3 separate regions of the Homo sapiens genome follow, and regions 2 and 3 are each linked to region 1. The links are contacts of gene promoters, found by promoter capture Hi-C in human tissues and cell types (Jung and others, 2019). All regions are on one chromosome and are shown on one strand. Each heading gives the region's core, a stretch centred on a gene start or on the middle of the fragment in contact. The rest is flanking DNA. Distances are from core to core; before and after follow the strand shown.

Evidence for each region. Contacts are between HindIII fragments. The study calls those that stand out against the background at their distance.
Region 2: a contact is called between a fragment that was not itself captured here and the fragment with the promoter of ADCYAP1R1 in region 1, in 2 of the 25 tissues and cell types used here (bladder and thymus).
Region 3: a fragment that was not itself captured here is called in contact with the fragment with the promoter of ADCYAP1R1 in region 1 in 1 of the 25 tissues and cell types used here (dorsolateral prefrontal cortex).

Annotation. Positions count from the first base shown.
Region 1 is chr7:31,050,530-31,053,605 of GRCh38, reverse strand. It overlaps ADCYAP1R1 (ADCYAP receptor type I), which reads right to left and starts at 1,298. Exons shown (of 16, transcript NM_001118.5): 1 at 928-1,298. The HindIII fragment of the contact is 8,235 bases long and covers 1-3,076 here.
Region 2 is chr7:32,208,006-32,211,052 of GRCh38, reverse strand. It overlaps a transcript of PDE1C not described here. Among named protein-coding and RNA genes, the nearest start is that of PDE1C, 140 kb to the right of the region's middle. The HindIII fragment of the contact is 5,205 bases long and covers 1-3,047 here.
Region 3 is chr7:32,327,534-32,330,577 of GRCh38, reverse strand. It overlaps a transcript of PDE1C not described here. Among named protein-coding and RNA genes, the nearest start is that of LSM5, 160 kb to the left of the region's middle. The HindIII fragment of the contact is 3,318 bases long and covers 51-3,044 here.

The DNA of each region.
Region 1 (3,076 bases), core at 49-2,548:
GGCTGAGCTCCATCCAGGGGTGAGGCTCCCCTCCTCAGCTCCACGTGAAATGCAATCGGCTTCCGGCTGGGTTCCCTCCTGAGGGTCTAGTTGCATCCATCGGCTCCCCTGTCCCTTCTGAGCCCCCTAACCTGCCAAGGTCCCGCCGAGGATGTGGCCTCCGCCCCCCGCAGCCGCCGCAGGAGCTTCTGCCTCTAAAGCGGCAGGCAGGGGTCTCAGCGGGCCCACTTCAACCTGGGAAGGCCGGTGCGTTTCCCCACAGACCCCGCAGGGCGTTTCTTCTGGGGACCACTGAAGCCCTGGCATCCCCAACCCCAGCCCCTCCGCGCCACGGGAAACGAAGACGACACTCTTTTGAACAATCCCGGATGTGTCACCACAGAGGGGCATTCTACACTGGCCCCTACCCCAACCCCCACCTAGCACATTGCTTGCCCACCCCTCAAACCCCGTGCGGATTGCGGTACCTAGCCCCGGGGGACCCTCCAGCCCTGCCTTCCCGATCCGCGTAGGTGCGTCCGTCCACCTAAGGGTAGGGAGGCATGTCCCTCCGGGTCCCTCCGGCCGCATGGCTTGCCTGCCCCCCTGGTCTCCCTTCTCCGCATCAGGAGGGGCGTGAGATAGCTAGGTCGACCCCCACCCCGGCAGTCTGCGGCGATCGGCCGCCCCGAGCGCAGCGCCAGACACTTGGGTTGGGGGGTGTCAGCCTGACGCGCAGGAAGGGCGCAGCGGCGGGAGGGGGCTTCATTTCAGATCTGGGAGGCTTGCCTGGCGCCGGCCCTCGCCCGCTCTCCGTCGGTGGAGGTCGCGGCTGGCGGAGACCGCCAAGCCAGAGGAGGGGATCCGAGGTCCCGGCTGGGCGAAGGTTCTGGAGGGGGAGAAGACGGCCGAGGCGTGGAGGGGCAGCCGCGGCGGGGCGACCCTTACCTGCTCACTGCGGGGCCTGTCCGTGGGGCCGGGGCAGACTCCGCAAAGGACGCGCAGCCTGCAAGTCCGCGGCCCGCGCGGCGCGGGGATGGGGAGCGTGTGCGCCGAGGAGCGCGCGCCGAGCCGGGTCTCCGCGCCTGTGTGGCCGGCTGGCGGCCGGGGTCCGTGTGTCCCTGCGCGGCGGCGTGTGCGTGTGCGCACGCGGGGACCACGCTCGCCCGGAGCCGCCGCCGCCGCCGTCACTCCCTGCCCGGGGCCGAGCGCAGCGCCCCCTTTGCCCGCCCCGCGCGGCGCGGCAGTCCAGCTTGGCTCCGTCCTGCGGGAGAGGCGCCGCCTCCGCCGCGAAGCCAGGCTGGGCGCTGGAGGGAGGCGACCGACCACCGCCTCCCCCTGCTCACTTCACAGGCTGGGGAGGGGGTGCTGCAGGCCAATGAGCGCCCGGGGGCGGGGTTAGATCGAGGGCGGTGCGGTGGGGGGCGCGGTGGGGGGCGCCGGGCTGCTCAACCCGACCCCACCCGCAGCACAGACTGGAGCAGGAGCTGCGGCGGGAAATCCCAGCGGCGGGGGTCGGGGGCGCTGAGGTGGAGCCCTCAGCCCCCTGTCATCCCCGTCTCCTCTGACTCTGGGCCTCCTGGGCTCACCACCCTCTTTCCAGTCTCTCCATCATAGCCAGGACTAGAAAGCCTTCTTTCTTCTCCCTAGGTCCTCAAGATTTCCTGTGTATCAGAGCCTGTCTTCCCTCTCCTCCAAGAAGCCTTCCTTACCAGGCAAGTCTCAGACCCTCCTTGGGCTCTTCTTTGCCCCTACCGCCCAGGCCTGGGAGGGTCAGCTAGTTTTGGGGTGCCTGTCGGGATGTCCTCCAATGTGACCCCCCCGCCCCCGGAGAAAGACCAGGAAGGGGATGGTGGTGCTTACAGGACAGAGGCAACTTAAAATATCAGACTGCCTGGCTCCAGTCCCTGCTGTGCCACAGCTCTGTGAGCTTGGGTAAGTGGCTCAGCCTCTCTGAGCTTCAGCTTCTTCATCTGCACAAGGGAACAATAGTACCGGCCCCCAGGTCTCTTCACAGCAGCATTAAATAAAAATGGTACACTCACCCCATAGTAGTTTCTCCCTGGTATCATTGATTCGCCGATGCTGAATAAATTACTATTGCTACTGTTATTACAGTCCTGTCCAACCTCCTCCTAGTGCAAATGGCTTAATAAGGAGAACTACACAGGTAAAGGTGGCCTAGCGGGTTGGCAGCGAAGCCCAAACTTAACTGAGAGTAGTTAGTTACCCACTCCCAGGCAAGTTCTCACCCTCTGCCCACCCCACCCAGCCCCCATCCCACAGCTGCTCCTGCCTGCCTCTGCTCTCGGTTTTTGGTCCCTGCCTCAGGCGTCAGTCTCTGAGAGCTCTCAGTTCTGCAGCCAGGCTCTGTTCTTGCCCATTCAAGTAAATTCTCGCTCAGCTTCCCTTTGGGTCCAAGTTCTAGGTATGGCCACCTTGTCCAGGAGGCCTCAAGAAGGGGGAAGGAGGAGGGAGAGCCTTGAGCCTTCCTTTGGGGTCGCCAGTCTACCAAAGAGGAAAGGACCTGTGGATGGAGAGGAATCCATATGGAAACTTGAAAGAAGCAATCTGAGGGCCCAGAAAGACGCGTGGAGGTTCCTAGGTCCATGTTTCTCTTTACTGACCAATGACCGCTGACCCCCATTGACACAACACACTGGTAGTCTGATTGGTTCATGTTCCTTTCAGTCCAGGAGAGCTTCCTGGTGGAGGAGAATATCAGTCTTATCTATATCAAGAAAGAATGAAGAGAAAGGAGAGAAGAAATAATGGAGAGAAAAGGGCCAGGTGCTGTGCTAAAATCAGACACAGACAGGACCTCCCTTTAATCCTGGCTAACCCCTTCTTAGCTTGTTGCCCTAACCCCTGAGAGCTGAGAGCCGCTTTCTTCATCTGCCTCCAACTCTGGTGTTGTGAAGATCAAATGAGATGATGTGTATAAAAACTCTCTATAAACTGTGAAACTAAGTGTGAGGGAAAGGAGGCTGCCAGGAGTCTCAGAGTCAAGAGGGACTCAGAGTGCAGGACGTAGAGGGCCTGGGAGTGAGAGGAAGGGTGAAGATCAAGGTCATCTATGGCAGACCAGCCCATCCTG
Region 2 (3,047 bases), core at 517-3,016, 1.2 Mb before region 1:
TATTTTTAGTAGAGATGGGGTTTCACCATCTTGGGCAGGCTGGTCTCCTGACCTCGTGACCCGACCGCCTCGACCTCCCAAAGTGCCGGACTACAGGCGTGAGCCACCCGCGCCAGGCCCATTTCTTTCTTTTTTTGAAATGCTGCGGTGTGACAGACGATGGGAGCTGGATGAATTATTGCCTCCCCCTGCTGGTCATTTTTATATAACATCTTATATATAGTAATATATAGTAAGAGTGCAGATGATAAAGCAAAGCTAATACCCAGAAAAACAAAAGATACTAAGATGTAATTTATTAATTTTTAAAAATTGCCCAAATTAGTAATAGACAAATTGCCCAAATTAGTAATTGGCCTTATTAGTAATAGAGTGTAGATGGTGAGGCAAAGCTAATGCCAGAAAAACAAAATATACTGAGATGGAATCCATTAATTTTTAAAAAATTGCTCAAATGCAGTAAATTTTAAAATACTTACCTTTGTGAGAGGGTGGAATAAATTTTTCGACTTCTTTCATTCTTTGTAAAACGATATAATAAGTTTAGAAAGTAGTTACTGTATTGGTTTTGTCCTTTTGCTGCAACTTCTCATACATTCATGATGACGTTAGCAATCTCCTTTATTCTGTTGATGCATTGAATGCTTTTTTCTCAGCTAGAATGAACAGGTGTTTCTTGTTGATTGCTTTAGGCATTTATCCAAGTAGATCACAAATACCCATGTCTGTCTGCTATGTATACATACAACAACCAAGGTATAATGTTTATGGGCATGAAACATGGTATTTAAAATGAGTGAAACCTGTGTTTCCCCTTAACAACCAATCTCTTTTACCCAATACAATGGGTTCATAAGTTATAAGGGACATTAAATATGACTCTATCCAATGATAAGTTATATGGAGACTTTTCGTAGGAGGTAGCCTGCCCTGCTGAGAAGCTTTAGGGGTAAGGTTTCTAGGGCAGTTTTCTGAACAATTCTATTAATGAACTTCCCTGTTTGTTAGCATCTAAATTTAATATCTTTCTGAACATAAAGCCAGCTTTTTATTTATCTTCCGAAATTCCTGCCTCAGCTTTGCCCCTATGGATCCTAGGAAACCAGATTCATTTCGATGCTTGGGGTGCATTTGCATGTTGACAGACAGCACTGTTAGAGGACTCTTGGGGCCAAAGGACGTCCACTAGCTTGGAAGCTGGTGTGTGTGCCTCTTACTAAGTGGATGTAAGCCAATTAACTTCTTTAGGCCTACTAAACTGGATGTTGTTGAGATCCTCTCTAGCTTCATCCAAATATTCTAATCAAAATGATTGAGACATTTGACTTCATTTAGGTGTTGAGGGCAGCCTTGGAAATACAGACACGGAGGGAGTAAAGTTGCTTTTATTCACTTACAAAGACTCTTAAATACAGCCCGATGTCAAAGCATCCAGGGGATTGGCTGTATTGGGGCATATTTGGTGGACACATTGCTTTATTTATTTAAATTGCATCCTCTTTTTTTTTTCTAGTTGCAAATGAAGCTGGAGACAAGAATGCCAGACCACTGGCCCGCTTCTCTCGTGAGTAAATCTTGTTTCACTCCTTTCCTGGTCTCCATCAGAAAATGTTCTCCAGAGATCTTTCCCCCATGCGGTATAGCTCTTCAATTCTGTCAGGTGTTAATAAAATAGTAATGCAGGAAATATCATCTGGTTAACATCCCACTTGAGCCCAGGCTGGTGAGCTACTCATTGCTACTGCCTTTTCAATCCTTAGAACTGTGGTTTCCAAATTGTGCTCTAAGCCTTTGCTATTCCAAGTATGGTCCTCAGAGCAGCAGAATCGACATCACCTGGGGGCTTTTTAGAACCATGAAGCCTCAGTCCCCCGACCACCCCTTCAGACCTATTGAGTCAGAATTTGTATTTTAACACATTTACAGGGGATGCCTGTTCACATTAGAGTTTGAGAAGTGCTGTGCTAGGACTATCCTTTCAATCTTTCAATGAATGTTTTATGAAGATAAAGTGAGGAGAGGTACGTGAAATGCTTGTAGCTATGAAGGCATCATCACCATTCAAAGTGGACTTATGGACTAACTCCACTGGCTTTTCCTCAGTTTGGTGACACTTTGAAGCTTAGATGGATTGAATGGGTTTCCTTAGGCATTGGGGATATTCCTAGGGCTGTGGTTAGGCCATGGGGCTTCCCTTGACTCCTTTGTCTCCAGGTCTTGATCCCTATGAGTAGGAGTCTAAAGCCTCTCAATGGTTTCTGTACCAGTGTGATCAGCAAATTATCCCGCAAGTTAATGCACTTCCTGGAACGAAAACCTGGATTCCAAAGAAGGGGGGGGAAAATACTAGAGACGGATGAGGGTGGAGTGGAGACGCTCCCCAAACCCACTATGCACCAGGTGGAGAAATCGTACAACTGTAAATAGAAACGGATTTATCACTGCCTCACTGGCTTTCACTAAAAGTAATTTCACTCACACTATCTGGGCCTCTGTCTTCGCACCTGGAAAATGTTCAAAATTGGACATTGTTACATTAATTTTTTTTTTTTTGCCTTCCTAAAAGTCACCTCATCGTTCCCTCTCTAGTATTGACTACAAAAAGACTTAGTAGCTGACGTGCCATCTGACTTTTTTCCAGGTCAGTCAAAAATGTTGCTGTCTTTTGAAATTGTGGCCAGGGAGGAACTCTATAAATCCCTAGTCACTGCATTCCTCATGCAGGGTTGACTAGGTCTGAGTGTGGACAGTGCCATAGTAAATCTTATTACATAAAGCTGAAAGTATAATTTCTCTATTTACAGGCTTCTTCTAAACTCTGCCTCCCAGCTCTTTTTGGAAGGCTTTGAAACGTTGGGATTGATTTCCTAGAAATGATTTTTATAGAACTGTAATAATGTACGATAATGAAAGAGCATGAAGTGCTCATATTTTAGAAATTGTGTAATAAAACACTCGCTTCTCATGAGCCCCATTCCTCACTGCCCTCCTACCTGGAATCATTATTTGCAAAATAGATATTTCATCCCACAGCTCAACGAGGTTGA
Region 3 (3,044 bases), core at 460-2,959, 1.3 Mb before region 1:
TGTGGGAAGAGATAAGACTGCAGTTTGAAATTCTGGCTATATTGAGGCCATGTCCTCAGGGTTTAGCTCGTCCATTAAGTAGTAATATAACTCTGTGATGATATCAATTAATTTGATGTTTTCCCCAGTCTCCTTTGGAGAGTCTGTGCTTAGCACTGCGAGCTCACCAGCAATTTTAGATCCAGCCCAGGAAAGGTCCTCCTCTGTTCTTCCTTTGATTCTAGCCATTTGCAGCCAAGGCAAAACTTACCAGCATAGCTGAGCAAGGCCGTGGAGCCAGAGAGGGCTGAGTGCAAGCTTGAATCAGCCACTTACTGAGACCTTGAACAGTTCACTCACCTTGCAGAGCCTCAACTGCAAATGGAGACAATGCCTACATCTAGAGTCATTGTGAGGATTAAAGATATATGAAGTGTCCAGCACTGTGCTTAGGACAGACTGGGGGTGCCATATGTGATGGCTCTTTATCCAAACAAAATCTCCATTTTGGGAAAGGTGGGCCAAAGATATGTGTTCTGAATCTATTTGGTTGATCTGGGAGATGCTATATTCAATCTTGATTTCAGGGCAACGTCTGCTGAGTTGCTGTAATATTGCCAGGCTCCTTGGCATCCCTGATGGGGAGACAAAGGCAACATGTGGACAATGATTTGAGCAAAGTGCTGGAAACAGGCTCCAAGCCTGAAGCTGTTAGTAATCCATCTCGAGTTCCTTTCCACCGGTTTTCGGCATAAAGGACAATGCAAGCTTGAATAATTAGAAAACCCCACATTCCCTTCTGTATACACTAGTTTCAACCAAGTCCTCTCCTGAGCCCTTTGACCAACACTAAAAATAAAGGGAAAAAGAAATAACAAAGCCTTGAAGAGGATATGCTCATTTTTCCTGGGTAGTAGAAGTATAGATGACCATTATTTTTCTCTTATTAATTTTTCAAAAAATTTAAGTGATAACTTGTTAGCATTATTATCAGGAAAAATACTCCCGCAAACTTTCTGAACTAGAAAACTGGACAAATGAATGGAAGTGCTGCCATACCTCTGTGGAAAAGGTAAACCTACATAAAGTGGCCCAAAGCAGGGAGCAGGAGTCTGAGGCACCTCAAGGTCACCTGCACTGGATTAAAAGCTCATCGGCAATTGAGAGGGAGCTCCGAGGTGGTCTCTGTTGAAGAGTACACAGGGTCTATCGCCTCCATAATAGGTGCCCAGTAAACAATGGCTACGTTGATGTATAAATGAGGCCTCTCCTCTGAGCATCTCAGAGCATTTTGCTTTATCAATTTTCCTCAGTGTGAAAGAGCTGCTTAACTTAGGTCTCCCCGAGAGAGATACTATTTACTTTTTATTTATTTATTTGAGACAAGGTCTCACTCTGTCACCCAGTGGCATGATCACAGCTTACTGCAGCCTTGACTTCCTGGGCTCAAGCTGTCCTCCCACCTTAGCCTCCTGGGTAGCTGGGACTACACATGTATGCCACCACACCTGACTAATTTTTTCATTTTTTCTAGAGATAAGGTTTTGCCGTGTTGCCCAGGCTGGTCTCAAACTCCTGAGCTTAAGTGATGCTCCTGCCTTGGCCTCCCAAAGTGCTGGATTACAGGTGTGAGCTGTCACGCCTGGCCAGCAATACTATTTATTAAGTCAATCATTTGACAAAAATTTATTGATCTCCTAGTGCCAGGTACTGGACATGCAGTAGTGACCAAGAAGGCCATGTCCTTGCCCTTGTGGACCACACAATCTAATAGGGAAAATAGGACATGAACAAGCGAATAAAGAAACAAGCTATGTGGAGATTGTGTAAGCGTTGCAGAGGAGATTCACTGTTGATAATGGAGGCCAGTTAGGAGTTCTCACCTGAGGATGTGACTTGTAAGTTGAGACCTGAAGGAAGAATAGTAGTTAGGCAAGCAAGGGGTGGAGTGGGGATGGGGGGTGGAGGATGGGGTTGTGTTCCAGGCAGAGAGAACAACACATACAAAGATCCTGAAGTGGAAGAGAGCCTGGCTTGTTCAAGGAAGAGGAAGGAGGCAGTGTGTCTGGAGCACAGTGAACATGGAGCGTGGTTGGTAAGGTGAAGTTGGCCAGGCAGGTCTGCAGCAGGCAGATCATGCAGGGACTTGGAGGCTGTGCTTCTGAGTTTGGGTTTATTCTGACTGTAGCTGGGAGCCATCACAATGTTTTAAGAAGGGAAATAGTGTACTCTTACTTGTGTTTGATAATATTTCTCTGGTTTTTATTTGGAGAATGGATTGGAGGGAGGCAAAAGTGGAAGCAGGGAGACTGAAAGGCTATTTAACTAGAACCTTAGTGAGACAGCTTTGTACACCACTAGAATGGCAAAAACAAAAAAGGGCACAAAATCAAGCCTTGGCAAGGATGTGAACAATAGAACTACTCTATACTGTGATGAGAGTGGCAAATGATTTAACCATTTTGGAAAACTGTTTGGTAGGATCTACTAAAGATAAATATATACATCACTTTTGAACCAGAAATTCCTCTCCTGAATATATGCTCAAAAGAAATGCCTACATATGTGCACCAAGAGATGTGAAGGAAAATGTTTATAGCAGCCTATTCATAACACCTTCAAACTGGAAATGATCTAAATATTAGCAGTACAATGGATAAATAAAAGGTGGTATGTTCATCTGAAGAAGCACAATTCAGCAGAGAAAAACGGAACTATGTCTATGTGCAAACAACATGGATGAATCTCAGAAACAGAATTTTGAGTGAAAGAAGCCAGACACAAAAGAAGCCACACTACATGATTCTCTTTTTTTTTTTTTTTTTTTTTGAGACAGAGTCTAGCGCTGTTGCCCAGGCTGGAGTGCAGTGACGTGATCTTGGTTCACTGCAGCCTCCGCCTCCTGGGGTCAAGCAATTCTCCTGCCTCAGCCTCCTGAGTAGCTGGGACTACAGGCATGCGCCGCCACCATGCCCGGCTAATTTTTGTATTTTTAGTAGAGACAAGGTTTCACCATGTTGGCCAGGATGGTCTTGATCTCCTGATCTCGTGATCCACCCACTTCG